Regions from separate parts of the Homo sapiens genome. Here regions 2, 3 and 4 are each linked to region 1. The links are contacts of gene promoters, found by promoter capture Hi-C in blood cells and fetal thymus (Javierre and others, 2016). All regions are on one chromosome and are shown on one strand. The core of a region is centred on a gene start or on the middle of the fragment in contact, and the rest is flanking DNA. Distances in the headings are between cores, read along the strand shown.

The links. The method cuts DNA at HindIII sites, captures the fragments that hold promoters and counts their contacts. A CHiCAGO score of 5 or more calls a contact.
Region 2: a fragment that was not itself captured here is called in contact with the fragment with the promoter of LTBP2 in region 1 in 7 of 17 cell types (endothelial precursors, megakaryocytes, erythroblasts and 4 more); the score reaches 14.7 in endothelial precursors.
Region 3: a fragment that was not itself captured here is called in contact with the fragment with the promoter of LTBP2 in region 1 in 9 of 17 cell types (endothelial precursors, erythroblasts, megakaryocytes and 6 more); the score reaches 15.4 in endothelial precursors.
Region 4: a contact is called between a fragment that was not itself captured here and the fragment with the promoter of LTBP2 in region 1, in 9 of 17 cell types (endothelial precursors, M2 macrophages, M1 macrophages and 6 more). The highest score is 11.2, in endothelial precursors.

The regions. Positions count from the first base shown.
Region 1 is chr14:74,610,898-74,614,330 of GRCh38, forward strand. LTBP2 (latent transforming growth factor beta binding protein 2) reads right to left here and starts at 1,340. Exons shown (of 36, transcript NM_000428.3): 1 at 554-1,340. The coding sequence starts at 1,047. It overlaps LOC101928352 (a long non-coding RNA gene), which reads left to right and starts at 2,288. Exons shown (of 2, transcript XR_944029.4): 1 at 2,288-2,398; 2 at 2,670-3,151. RefSeq lists an enhancer at 1,396-2,023 and a silencer at 1,651-1,970. The HindIII fragment of the contact is 11,176 bases long and covers 1-3,433 here.
Region 2 is chr14:74,814,978-74,818,410 of GRCh38, forward strand. It overlaps YLPM1 (YLP motif containing 1), which reads left to right. Exons shown (of 21, transcript NM_019589.3): 12 at 1,226-1,288; 13 at 1,594-1,713; 14 at 1,954-2,130; 15 at 2,217-2,300; 16 at 3,254-3,337. Among named protein-coding and RNA genes, the nearest start is that of YLPM1, 53 kb to the left of the region's middle. The HindIII fragment of the contact is 1,282 bases long and covers 854-2,135 here.
Region 3 is chr14:74,798,510-74,801,942 of GRCh38, forward strand. It overlaps YLPM1 (YLP motif containing 1), which reads left to right. Exons shown (of 21, transcript NM_019589.3): 5 at 1-1,188. Among named protein-coding and RNA genes, the nearest start is that of YLPM1, 37 kb to the left of the region's middle. The HindIII fragment of the contact is 1,574 bases long and covers 1,091-2,664 here.
Region 4 is chr14:74,781,530-74,784,962 of GRCh38, forward strand. YLPM1 (YLP motif containing 1) reads left to right here. Exons shown (of 21, transcript NM_019589.3): 4 at 1-796. Among named protein-coding and RNA genes, the nearest start is that of YLPM1, 20 kb to the left of the region's middle. The HindIII fragment of the contact is 1,293 bases long and covers 877-2,169 here.

The sequences.
Region 1 (3,433 bases), core at 90-2,589:
CATCCAGCCCTCAGCGTGCGCAGGCCGACCCACGCCCCACGACACTTGTCCCGACGCACCAGCTTCGCTGCCGGCTCCCCTCCTGGAGACGCATCTACCTTCTCTCCATGGGGCCCCCGACACCTCCGCCAACCCGCGCTCTGAGCCAGCTCAACCTCCCCTGGGCGTCAAGAGCCTGGAGCGCCCACCCTCCTGCCCTCTCCCCGCTGCCTCTCAGATCCCGGCAGCGCTGCAAGAGTCTACAAGAGCTCGTTAGTTGCAGGCAGGAGGAACGCGGGCGAGTGGAGAGGCGCCTTGCGAAAGGATTTAACGTCGGGGCTCCGGGAGAGTTGGTAAGAAAGGATGAGGATGATGATCTATCTGCCTTCAACTCTTCGAAAGCGGATCAAATCTTCCAATCCCGATTTTGGAACCTCGGGGCTGTTTCCCGAAGTACTAAAGACAGAGGGACGAGGGTATGAGAGCGGCGCCCTCTCCTCTCGCCTGCACGCCCCTCCACAAATGAGCCCTGGCTCCCCTCTGTACCCTCCAAACTTCCCTCTCCCATGCTCACCCCGTGAGCCGCCCTCGCGGCGGGGTTGGGGGCGCAGCCCCAGACCGCTGTGGGGTCCCCAGGCGTGGGAGAGCCGGCGCGGCCCGGGTCCGGGGTGCTGGTTGCTGCTGGCCCAGGGGAGTGCTTCTCCGGGTCTGCGCAGGTGGCTGGACACGCCGCGACTGCTGCGCGCGGGACGGCCTCCTGGCCTCCGCCTCGGTGGGCCTCCTGGGGCTCCCCCAGCCCGGCTGGGCCCGCTCCACGGGCTGCAAGCCCGCGACAGGCGCGTCCTGCTCCCGGAACAGACTGTACACCTTGGCTGCAGCCGCTGCCGGGTAGCTGCCCCCAGGGCGCCGCAGTCGATTCGCGTCTCCACCAGCCGGCTCGTATCTCCCTACGGGGTCCCTTTGGGCATGACCCGCGCCCACGAAGAGAGCCAGGGTGAGCGGCAGGAAGCCTCTCCAGGGGTTCCGCAGGGCGCGCCCCGGGCTGCGGGCTTTGGTCCGCGGCCTCATGGCGCGGGGCGGCTGGAGAGTGGTGCGCGCGGGCACCGCGAAGAGCTTTGTGGTCGGCACGCTGGACGCCCGCGGGCTGTTCTCCCGGCCCCGCCCGGCGGCCAGCTTCTCTGAGTCTAGGGGGCCCTGAAGCGGCCGACTGGGGGCCCGGCTCTCGGCGGAACGAGGGCTGCGCGCCCCGAGCCTCGAGTCCGCGCTCCTACTCCAGCTGGGCTCGCACGGCTGCTGCACCTTCGCGCCTCCTCCCTGTGCCTGCAGCCGTCTGAAGGGGACCCGGACGGTTTTATTTTTGGAAACCTCCCCCGGCTTTTTCGTCTCTTTTATCCACACCAGGCCCCCTCCTCGGAGGGACAGCTCAGCCCCCTCATTACCGGAGAGGGAGCGAGGAATTCCAGCAACACCCACTTTGGCACCGGGAAGCCAGCGGGCGGCGAGCGGGCGGCGAGGGGGATTAACCCGTGCGGAGCAGGGGGCGGCGCGGGGCTGACCCAGGCGCTGGTCGGGCAGATGGCGCCTGCCACGACCGGGACACTGGGCCGCCTTTCTCCTGCTCTGGGCAAGTTCGAACTGCAGACCTGCCCCGAATCGTTCTCCCGCCCCTCGCCTCAGGGACCGTCTTTGGATCGGGGGACCCAGGCTGCAGCCTTGCAGGTCTGAAGGAAGCCGGGAGGGGCGCCGAGGCCCGCGTAGGGGAACAGGGCCGCCGCCCCCTCCGCTTGCGCCCTGGCCGCTGGGGGCGCCCTCCGCAGGGCCGGCCGGAGCGGGGGTGGCGCGGGGCGGGGCGCGGCGCGCGGAGCGCAGGGAGGTCCCGGGCGCGCCCCCTGGCGGAGCTGGCGGCCCTGGCGCTCCGTGGCTGCAATGCCCTGGCGCCGCCGCCTTCGCTCTGGATCTCAATCCCCTTCCACTGGCGTGAGGGTCACGCCTGAGCCTGGCGCGGTGATGGCTGCCGGTAGAAGAGGGGTCCTCTTTTTCTTTTTCTTTTTCTTTTCTTTCTTTCTTTCTTTCTTTTTTTTGAGACGGAGTTTCGCTCTTGTTGCCCAGGCTGGAGTGCAATGGTGCGATCTCAGCTCCCCGCAACCTCCGCCTCCCGGGTTCAAGCGATTCCCCTGCCTCAGCCTCCCTAGTAGCTGGGATTACAGGCATGCGCCACCAAGTCTGACTAATTTTGTATATTATTTTATTTTTTAGTACAGACGGGGTTTCTCCATGTTGGTCAGGCTGGTCTCGAACTCCCAACCTCAGGTGATCCGCCCGCCTCGGCCTCCCAAAGTGCTGGGATTAAAGGCGTGAGCCACCACGCCCGGCCAAGGGGTCCTCTTTTTCACCGAGGCAAAGACACGGAGCCTCTTGAGTAAGTCACTCAAGGAGATAGCGCATGTGAAAGAGGGGAGTGGAATCTAGGCCTCCCGCCTCTGGCTGAATCCATTCCCGGGATCCCACCCAGCCCTTCACTCTCTCGGGAATTTCCCAGAGGGGGATTCGGTGACCCCGATTGACCCAGTGTGTGCATTCACATCTTGTGTTAGCAGGGAGGCGGGCAGGGGTGTGGGAATGCTGACTGCCGCTGTCTGCGTGTCCCCAGTAATCAGCACACCATTCTCACCCATGCTCCCTCCCTACAGCCTAAAGGCTTGGATCAACAGGGCTGCCCCTGGCACATTTGTACAGCCTATTTCCCAGAGAGGCAGAGTGAAGGAGCTGGCATGTGGGCACCAGTTCACAACCTCCCACACCACACAAAAGACAAGCCCAGGTAATATCTACTGTTGAAATAAAGCCTCGACCCCTGGCCTTGGCCTACAAACCCTAGCTGGCTGCCCCCGCTCTGATTTCATCTGGCCTCTTGCTCTCCCTTACCCACCACACTGTGCTGCCTTGGCCCTCTCTCTGCTCCTTGAACAAGCCAAGTGAATGCCCCCTTCCCTCTACTGGAAGGTTCCTCTCCAGGATGTTAGAGGGTAGTTCCTCATCACTGCTCCTCTCAGATTAAATATCAGCTCCTGGAGTAGCCATCCCTGACCTCCAATCTAGAGCAGCCCTCCCTCACCCCAGTCATGACTCTAACACACCACCCTGTTTCATCTTCATAAAACAGTTGACATCATCTTGTTATTGATTTGTTTGCTCGTGTAACTGAATTTTTTAATGGGCTGAACCTAAAGAGGGACTATCCAGAAACTGCTCCACTACTACCTTCAACCATATTATGGTAAATTTCCCTTTCCCACCCTTAATGACATCTCAGGCAGAGTCCTTGGCTTGAGAGGTCATCCCTACCAGACACGAGAACTATTCTATTAATATAATTAAGACCCATTTTCAGACACAAAAAGTCTGCTCCTGTCCAGATCAAAATCTCATCCAAGTTAATCAATATCACATCCCA
Region 2 (3,433 bases), core at 245-2,744, 200 kb after region 1:
TTCACCTAAATTATCTAATTTGTTGGCATACAATTGTTCATAGTATTCCTTTGTAATCTTTTTTATAAGGTTGGTAGTAATGTCTCCTCCTTCATTTCTTTTTTACTCGAGGCAGAGTCTCACTATTGCCCAGGCTGGGGTTGCACTCCTGGGCTCAAGTGACCCTCCTGCCTCAGCCTCCTGAGGAACTGGGATTATAGGCACATGCCACTGAGCCCAGCTTTCATTTCTGATTCTGGTAATTTGAATCTTCTTTTTTTTCTATTCAGCCTAGGTAAGAGTTCATCAATTTTGTTGATCTTAGTCAGGCGTGGTGGCTCATGCCTGTCATCCCAGCACTTTGGGAGGCTGAGGTGGGCGGATCACTTGAGGCTAGGAGTTCAAGACCAGCCTGGTCAACACGGTGAAACCCCATCTCTACTAAAAACACAAAAATTAGGCGGGCGTGGTGGCAGGCACCTGTAATCCCAGCTGCTTGGGAGGCTGAGGCATGAGAATCGCTCAAACCTGGGAGGCAGAGGTTGCGATGAGCCAAGATTGCACCACTGCACTCCAGCCTGGGCAACAGAGCAAGACTCCATCTCAAAAAAAAAAAAAAAAGTTGGTCTTTTTAAAGAACCACTGCCACCGTTTGGTTTTATTGACTTTTTCTCTTTTGTTTTTCTGTTTTCTATTTTATTAACTTCTGCTTTAATCTTTATTGTTTCTTTCCTCTGTTTCTTTAGTTTGCTCTTCTTTTTCAAGTGTCTTAAAGTGGATGGTTAAGTTATTGATTTGAGACCTATTTCTTTCCTACTATAGGCATTTATAGCTATCAATTTCCTTTTAAGCACTGCTTTAGCTGTATCCTGTAAGCTTTGGTGTGTTGTGTTTTTTTCATTCATCTCAGAGTATTTTCTGGTTCCTCCTGGTTTCTGGCTCCTCTTGATTTCTGGTTCCTCTTCATTTTTTCTTTGATTCATTGGTTATTTAGGAGTATGTTGTTTAGTTTTCACGTATTTGTGAGTTTCTCTAATTTTTTCTTACTATTAATTTCTAATTTCATTCCACTGTGGTCCAGTGACATACTTTATATTATTTCTGTCCTTTCAAATTTATGAAGGTTTGTTTCATGGCCTGTTGTATAGTCTATCCTGGAAAATGGTAGGTCATTGTTAACTGTTATCTCATTGCAGAAAATTTTCTCTCAGTGATTTTTTTTTTTTTTTGGTCTATTCTGTTTCAGATTGTTGTTATAATGAGAGGATTACCTGGCAGTGGAAAGACACATGTTGCAAAACTTATTCGAGTGAGTATGGGGAAGCTGAAAAATCAGCTGCTTGTGCTGCTTGTGTTAGTAGTCACTTGCCTTCTTATTAATAGCAAGCAACATAATGCCAATAGAATTGTCTTCCATTTGATCCATTACAGTTGGCCCATGTGGTAGATGTTGTCCCATATATATTTTTATCTACTCAGAGAAACATTTTTGCCTCTGCTTGATTTGAAACCACCAGAAGATTGTATATTATTTAGCCACAAGAGGGAACTTTGGTGTGAACATTAATTTATTCCATAAATTCGTTTTAACCTTCTTGACTGTATGATTCTTAGGATAAGGAGGTAGAATTTGGAGGACCTGCACCCAGAGTTCTAAGCCTGGATGATTACTTCATCACTGAAGTGGAAAAAGAAGAAAAAGATCCAGATTCTGGAAAGAAAGTGAAAAAGAAGGTATGGTATTCATCTCAGATCTCGTTCTGATTCATTAATAGTATTTAAAGGAAAATGTGTTTGGAGAGAAATGTGGCTTTTTTGAGGGCAGGGACCTCTCTCTTTTCCGAACACAGTACTTTAGTACTTGGGTGTGAAGGAAAGACTACAAAGTCATCTCTATCCAAATACTAACCAAGGAAAAGGTTTTGGATGATTCTTTGCTTTTGCTAATTCCATATCTCTTTTGGGGGACCTTAGGTAATGGAATATGAATATGAAGCTGAGATGGAGGAGACTTACCGCACCAGCATGTTCAAAACTTTCAAAAAGACTCTGGATGATGGCTTTTTTCCCTTCATCATCCTGGATGCCATCAATGACAGAGTTAGGCATTTTGACCAGTTTTGGAGTGCAGCAAAAACCAAGGGATTTGAGGTAGAAGCTTAAAGAACTTTAAAGTACTTTGTGTTGTCATGTAAATGTTATATATCTTTGCCTAATTATTATTCATTCTTGCTTAGGTATATTTGGCTGAAATGAGTGCAGATAACCAGACTTGTGGCAAGAGAAATATTCATGGAAGAAAGCTTAAAGAAATAAATAAGGTGATTTTAAGAAACATAGAATAATAGAGTACTATCATGCGCTGCATAATGATGTTTTGGTTAAGGAAGGACTGCATATATGGTGGTCCCATAAGATTATAATGTATTTTTATTGTACCTTTTCTGTGTTTAGATATGTTTAAGTACACAAATACTTCATTGTGTTGCAGTTGCCTACAGTATTCAGTACATTAACATGCTGTACAAGTTTGTAACCTAGATGTGCAGTAGGCTTTATCATCTAGGTTTGTGTAAGTATACTCCATGATGTTCACACAATGACAAAATTGCCTAATGACCCATTCCTCATAATATATGCCCATTGCTAAGTGATGTGTGACTGTACTCTAAACCTCATATTATCTGTATCAGCACTCTTGTCTGGAAGCTCTTGTTTATCTCCTTTTTTTTTCATAATAACTTTCCTATCTGCTTTAGTAAATGTTTCTCTTCCTTTGTTTCTTTTCCTAGCTCTTCTTGAAATTAGCCTGTTATGGCCTGGCATGGTGGCTTAGGCCTGTAATCCCAGCACTTTGGGAGGCTGAGGTGGGCGGATCGCTTGAGCCTGGGAGTTTGAGACCAACCTGGGCAACATGGCGAAACCCTGTCTCTACAAAAAAATACAAAAATTAGCTGGGCATGGTGTCATGTGCCTGTGGTCCCAGCTACTGGGGAGGCTGAAGTGGGAAGATCACTTGAGCCCACCATGTCAAGGCTGCAGTGAGCCATGTTGGCGCCACTACACTCCAGCCTGGGTGACAGACCGAGATTCTGTCTCAAAAAAAAAAAGAAATTAGCCCATTAGACTTTACAATATTAAATTAATATTTAACAAATATTTAATTAATATTTAACAATATTTTAAAATATTGTTAAATGTTGTTTATCTTGGATGCTTACTTGGTCTTTGAGTAGTTTCTAGAGATAACTCAACCATCTGAATTTTTCAATAGATGGCTGATCACTGGGAAACTGCACCTCGTCACATGATGCGTCTAGATATTCGTTCTTTGCTGCAAGATGCTGCTATTGAAGAGGTGAGTATCCTTTGGTTCAAATGCAATGCAAAGTGATGTTACTTTTTCACCTTTTTACTTTGAAAAACTTAAAACCTACAGAAAAGTTATATGAAT
Region 3 (3,433 bases), core at 628-3,127, 190 kb after region 1:
GATGAACAGAGGAGAAGGTAGCCGGGACAGAGGGTTGGTGAGGCCTGGAAGCAGTCGGGAGAAAGTGCCAGGTGGTCTTCAAGGGAGCCAGGACAGGGGTGCAGCTGGCAGCCGAGAAAGGGGACCACCTCGGAGGGCTGGCAGTCAGGAGAGGGGACCTCTTCGAAGGGCTGGGAGTAGAGAGAGAATACCACCCCGAAGAGCTGGGAGCAGGGAGAGAGGACCACCTCGAGGGCCTGGCAGTCGAGAAAGGGGACTGGGAAGATCAGATTTTGGTCGTGATAGAGGTCCATTCAGACCAGAACCAGGAGATGGTGGGGAAAAAATGTATCCATATCACCGGGATGAGCCTCCTAGGGCTCCATGGAACCATGGAGAAGAGCGAGGGCATGAAGAGTTTCCATTAGATGGTAGAAATGCTCCAATGGAACGAGAAAGACTCGATGACTGGGATAGAGAGAGATACTGGAGAGAATGTGAACGTGACTATCAAGATGATACACTAGAGCTCTATAACAGAGAGGACAGGTTCTCAGCACCACCATCTCGGTCTCATGATGGAGATAGGCGAGGCCCTTGGTGGGATGATTGGGAGAGAGACCAGGATATGGATGAGGACTACAATAGGGAAATGGAAAGGGACATGGACAGGGATGTGGATCGGATTTCAAGACCTATGGATATGTATGATAGAAGTTTGGATAATGAGTGGGACAGAGATTATGGGAGACCACTGGATGAACAAGAATCACAGTTTCGTGAACGGGATATTCCATCTCTTCCACCTTTACCGCCCCTCCCACCTCTTCCACCTTTGGATAGATATCGGGATGATAGATGGAGAGAAGAAAGAAATCGAGAGCATGGGTATGATCGAGATTTCCGTGATAGGGGTGAGTTGAGGATTCGAGAGTATCCAGAAAGAGGAGATACATGGCGGGAAAAGCGAGATTATGTTCCTGACAGAATGGACTGGGAAAGAGAACGGTTGTCAGACAGATGGTACCCATCTGATGTGGATAGACATTCCCCCATGGCGGAACATATGCCCTCCTCACATCATTCCTCAGAAATGATGGGGTCCGATGCAAGCTTAGACTCTGACCAAGGCCTTGGAGGGGTAATGGTTCTCAGTCAGAGGCAGCATGAAATCATTTTGAAAGCTGCACAAGAACTGAAAATGCTTCGGTAAGTTGACTCCTTCAGATCCTTTCTTTTAATAAAAACCACATTCAGACTGCTCTTTTTAAAGTGATATGATATATTTGAATGGAATCATTTTACTTCAAGTTCTTATCACATACTTTTAATTTATATTTCTGGTCATTCAGTGCTGTTTTAGGGTTAGAATGGGTATTTAGGAACTGTGTTAATGATAAACTTATGCCCTAAGATGTGAAAATTGATTGCTGTCTTGGCCTTTGTAGAAGTGTTGCTGGCATGCCATGCCTGTGCATGTTTCAAGTGTCAAACTTCAACTTTTCAGTGCTCTGGATTTCACAGGGTTCATGTGTAACCTTCATTTTTTCCAGTAATCAGTTTGTTCTTTGGTATTAGATCTGATAGACTTTATATTCACTAATCATTGATAAAACTTTGGAAAGTGCTGTATTTTTCTTTGTTGAAGCTAAGAATGGTTTGCTTAGGAGCATCCTCAGATTTGTCTTAACTATTGATACTTTCTTTTGGGGATGTTTTATCTTTCATTATAACTAAAAGCAGATATTTCTCCTTGAGGATGTTATTTGTTTCTACATAACCAAATGTTTTCTTTGTGAAATGGAAAATAGGATTTCTTGACTTACAATCAACTGTGTATAGGTATCTACATAATTTTCCTCTTTTCTTGTGGTAACAACAATAACAAAAGCTAACATTTATTGCATGCTTACTCCGGGCCAGGAACTGTACTAAGTGTGTTGTGTATAATAAACTCATTTAATCCTTAAACCAGCTGTATCTTGGGATAGGAATTTAGAAGTCAGTGACAGATTGAAAACTTTTTTAAAGCAATTTTTTTGAGAAAGTCAATTAATGATTAGGTTTTGATAAATTCCAATGTATTTCTTCCATTTTTCAATTCTGGTTTACATTTGTGGATCTTAACAATAAATTATAACTTAAACTTTAGAACTAGGAAAGAAAAATACGGTGAAGAAAAGGTAATGATGAAAGACCAGATACGGCAGGTTTGTATGGTCTATAGCTAAGAGGTTTATTTTTTCCAGATTACTCATGAAGAAAATGTGGAAAGCATGCTATAGAATATTTAGCTACTACACTATTCACTTTTAAGTTATAGACACCTTTAATTTTAACACCTACCGTGTAACTGGGCACTTGCTAATAATTGAGTGTATATTATGTCAGTCTGTCTATCTCAAAGGCCTGCAAAGATAAGGTAGTATTATCCCCACTTCACAAATGACACTAAAGTTCAAAGAGGTTAAGTTCCCTTGGCTAGTAAGTGGCAAACCCGGCCTTTGAACTCAATCTGTCTAAAACTCTAAAATCTGTGTTATTTATGGAGAATACCAAGCTGATTGGTGTTGTTAAGCTGCCAAGGTTTCTTTTTTTTTCCTTTTTAAATTTCTTTTTAATTCGTTATTGCTTTGCATGGTAATGCTGGATAAAAGGTGCTGCTGCTGCTTCATCCTTTTTTAAAGCTTTCTAGGCAACATGAACATAATTAAACAATATATAGGGAGTGATGGATAATGTCATAGCCGAATACAAGTCGTTTATGTTGTGTCAGTGTAAAGTCGTAAGGAGTATCATAAGGGATGTGATGATGGGATTTACCTGAGCAGTAAATAATCTTACACACTTGACCCTTACTTTGTGGTCCCTCATTTGTGGACCCTCATTTGGGTCACTTTAATGTAAGGAGAAAATTGTAAAAGGTCTTAAGAAATTGTAGTGGATTTTACCTATGTTTAAGGTAGGCATTGTGAAAAAAAGTAAAAGGAATTTCGTCAGTTTAAAGAAAAAACCGAAGGATTACATAATTATCTTCAGGAATATGAAATGTTGTTTTTAAAGGTATAGACTGACAGTTGTTCTCACCATCTACAGCAGGGGCCATAAATTAAAATGTCCCCAAGAATCAGATAACAAAAATGAGTGAAAGTGGGCCAAGTATAACTCTGTAGAGTACGGTGAAGATTGTGACAGGTTGTTTCATCTAACATGGGCAGCCTCTACTGCACTCAGCTGATTGTTGGCATGTGGGAATGTAGGCCTGGTGTTACCATATCTCTTTAAGATTTGAATTTATATATGAAATATTTTGCTTTGTAAATATGACAGCTAATTTCAAATTTTAAAAACTGATGTGAAAGCCACATTTTGAAAACCTTTTTAGGCCATATTTGGCCCATGGGCCACCATTTTGCAACCTCTGGTCTAAAGAGTTGAAAAAAATAGGCCGGGC
Region 4 (3,433 bases), core at 273-2,772, 170 kb after region 1:
TCCAGGAGAAAGTCAATTCATTTCAGAACATGAAGAACCAGTATATGGGGAACATGTCAATGCCACCTCCTTTTGTTCCATATTCTCAGATGCCTCCACCTCTACCTACAATGCCCCCTCCAGTGTTGCCTCCTTCATTGCCACCACCAGTGATGCCCCCTGCCCTCCCTGCTACAGTGCCACCACCTGGCATGCCCCCACCTGTTATGCCACCTTCTCTACCAACCTCTGTTCCCCCACCAGGGATGCCTCCTTCTCTCTCTTCTGCAGGGCCACCACCAGTTCTCCCCCCACCTTCCCTGTCTTCTGCAGGGCCACCACCAGTTCTTCCCCCACCATCTCTCTCTTCAACAGCACCTCCACCTGTCATGCCCCTCCCACCATTGTCTTCAGCTACACCTCCTCCAGGAATACCTCCCCCTGGAGTTCCACAAGGGATACCTCCTCAGTTAACAGCAGCCCCAGTTCCACCAGCCTCCAGTTCACAGAGCTCGCAAGTTCCAGAGAAACCTAGACCAGCACTGCTTCCTACTCCTGTGTCTTTTGGTTCTGCCCCACCGACAACTTACCATCCTCCGTTGCAATCAGCTGGTCCATCAGAACAAGTGAATTCAAAAGCTCCTTTGAGCAAGTCTGCTCTGCCATACAGTTCATTCTCATCTGATCAAGGACTTGGGGAGTCTTCAGCTGCTCCATCTCAGCCAATCACTGCAGTGAAGGACATGCCAGTGAGATCAGGTGGCCTGCTTCCAGATCCTCCTAGAAGTAGTTACTTGGAAAGTCCAAGAGGCCCAAGGTAGGTCTGCTTTTTTTTCTCTTTTTTTTTGGTTTGGCTATTTTATTGACTTAGGCTATTTGGTTCTCGATGGTATAAAAAGCTTCATTTATACAATGTTTATACTCTCTTTGTACTTATATTGTCTGCTTGTTAAGACATCACGTATGTAATCTAGAAAAGGTAACATGCCCCCATTTCTTTGATGTCTCTGCTTTTGTCCTATATGTAGAGATTATAATCCAGAATGAATGTAGTATTGTAGAGTAATGCTAATCATTTTGTATTGACTTATTAGCTTTAAAAATAATATTAAACTTTATCTTTTGTTTGCTTTTTCATTCATTTGACAAATAATTGAATTGGCAATTACTATTTGTTAGATAATTTGTTAGTTGTTAGAGATAAAGATGAATAAGCCAATATTCTACTGGCTTGAGGCAGTGAAATTTAGCATAAGGTAAGTAGGACTTTTATTTTATCCATTCAGCAAATATTTAAGTTCCTGCTCTTGTACTTAGAGCAGTGAATATAGCAGAACACATAAAATTCCTGCCCCCATGGAGCTTACATCCTTTATATTTTCCCCAGTTAAGGAGATACTTCTGTTTATCCTGAACAACATATTTAGAAAGAAAAAAAATTGCTGGTGTGTAAGTTTTTTCTCTTTACCTTCTAAAAACTGTTAAATTCATTTTTTCCAAGTTTGTAAAAATAGATTTTTCTCCCCAAGTTGACCTAAATGATAACTTTTCTATGGAAATTATTATTATTTTTTGAGACAGGGTCTCGGTTTTTCACCCAGGCTAGTGTGCAGTGATAGAATTATGGCTCAGTGCAGCCTCTTCCTCCTGGGTTCAAGCAGTCCTCCCACCTCAGCCTCCCAGGTGGCTGGGACCAGAGGTGCGCACCAACACATCTGGCCAGTTTTTAAAAAATACTTCGTAGAGATGGGGATCTTCCTATGTTGACCAGGCTGGTCTCAAACTCCTGGGCTCAAGCGATCCTCCTGCCTTGGCCTCCCTGCCTGCCGTGGCCTCCCAAAGTGCTGGGATTACAGGTGTGAGCCACCACGCTCAGCCAGAAAAATACTTTAATCAGTTTTTTTCTCAGTTGGGAATTGTAGTAGAAATGGGTACTCCTTATACAAAATTCAAACATTACAGAAAAGTGTAGAAAAAAGTGAAAGTCACCTAATTCCACCATCTGGAGAGAATCATTTTAAAAATATATGTTGCAGAAATGGGATCATACTGAGTAGATTATCTTATAACTTATTTTTCCACCAATCTGCGTATTGCTTAGATTTTCATCTCAGTATCAGTGGATCTACATCATCATTTTTTTCAACCTCATTTTAACATTTGAAAACAAAATATATCTTTTATTCCCCAAGCTTATAATTCTGAAAGCAGTGTGGCACAAAACTCCATCCACAATCAAAGTTAAGAGAAAGGGCAATTAACATGAATTCCTCTGTGTACCAAGAAGCCTTGCTAGAGACTTTACACACATTATTATCTCATGGAAGTCTTCTCAACAACCTGTGAAGTAGGCAGATTATTCTCCATTTACTCTTAACAAAATGGCACTGAGAGGACTGCGTAACTTGCTCAGTCAGGATTATTTAGCAGAGTGAGTAGAACCCCAGAATAGGTACAGTTGAGTCTAGAGGGTCCCCAAAGCAAAAGTACTATTTAAGCTCTGTTTACTGCCATGATTCAAGCCTATACTGTCAGTGCTTATTTGGCATGTGTATCATCTTGATTTGAATTCGTTCTTAATCTCCTGGAATGAGCATTGCCTTTTAGATCTGGTAACTAATTTGCTATCAGAGAAGTACATTCTTAACACCTCATGAAACATACATTTCCTGCTCCCTTGATTTCCGTCATGTTAATATTTTCTCTCTTTGCCTACTAAATCTTGGCTGTGTGAATTTAGGACCTATTTTAAGTTTTGTCTTCAGAAGAAAATAACTTCTCAAGTTAATAATCTCTGTGCTGGGAGGATATTAGCAATTATCTAATATATCTGTCTACGGCAACGCACGTTTGTATTCCATTTCAGTTTGTCACAATGAGTCTTGCACATATCATCTTATTTATTCCTCTTAGTGATATCAGGAGGTAAATAAATACATAAGAAAAGCTGAGATTCAGAGAGGTTGTAAATACCTTGCCTCATATAACACAGCTAGTAAATGGTCAAGATGAGATTAGAATCCAAGGACTTCTGACCCACTTTAAGTCCATTGTACTTTCTGTGATGAGCAGTTGTATGCTTAACATTGGCATTGTGATTAGGAACACTGCCATATAAGGCATTGATTCTAGAAAGTTTGTTTTTTACATTGAACCTAAATGTGATTCTTTAACTTTTATCTGTTGATTCTAGATTTGCCTCTGGAGCAACACAGAATGAATTATCCTATGCCTCTTCTACAGCATGTCACTACAGTTATTTAAAAACTATTACCCTCATGTCTCCCTCACCCTACCTCACCCAGTTTGCTCTGCCAATCACAACTCAGATTCTTTTCATCTTAACATTGTTTCTAACCTCATCCTGCTGTACTGCTCACTGTCCTTTGAAGGGCCTTTAGTTTGTTAGTCTCCTTCAGAATGAACACTTACTTCAGATGCAGAGGAGCATGGG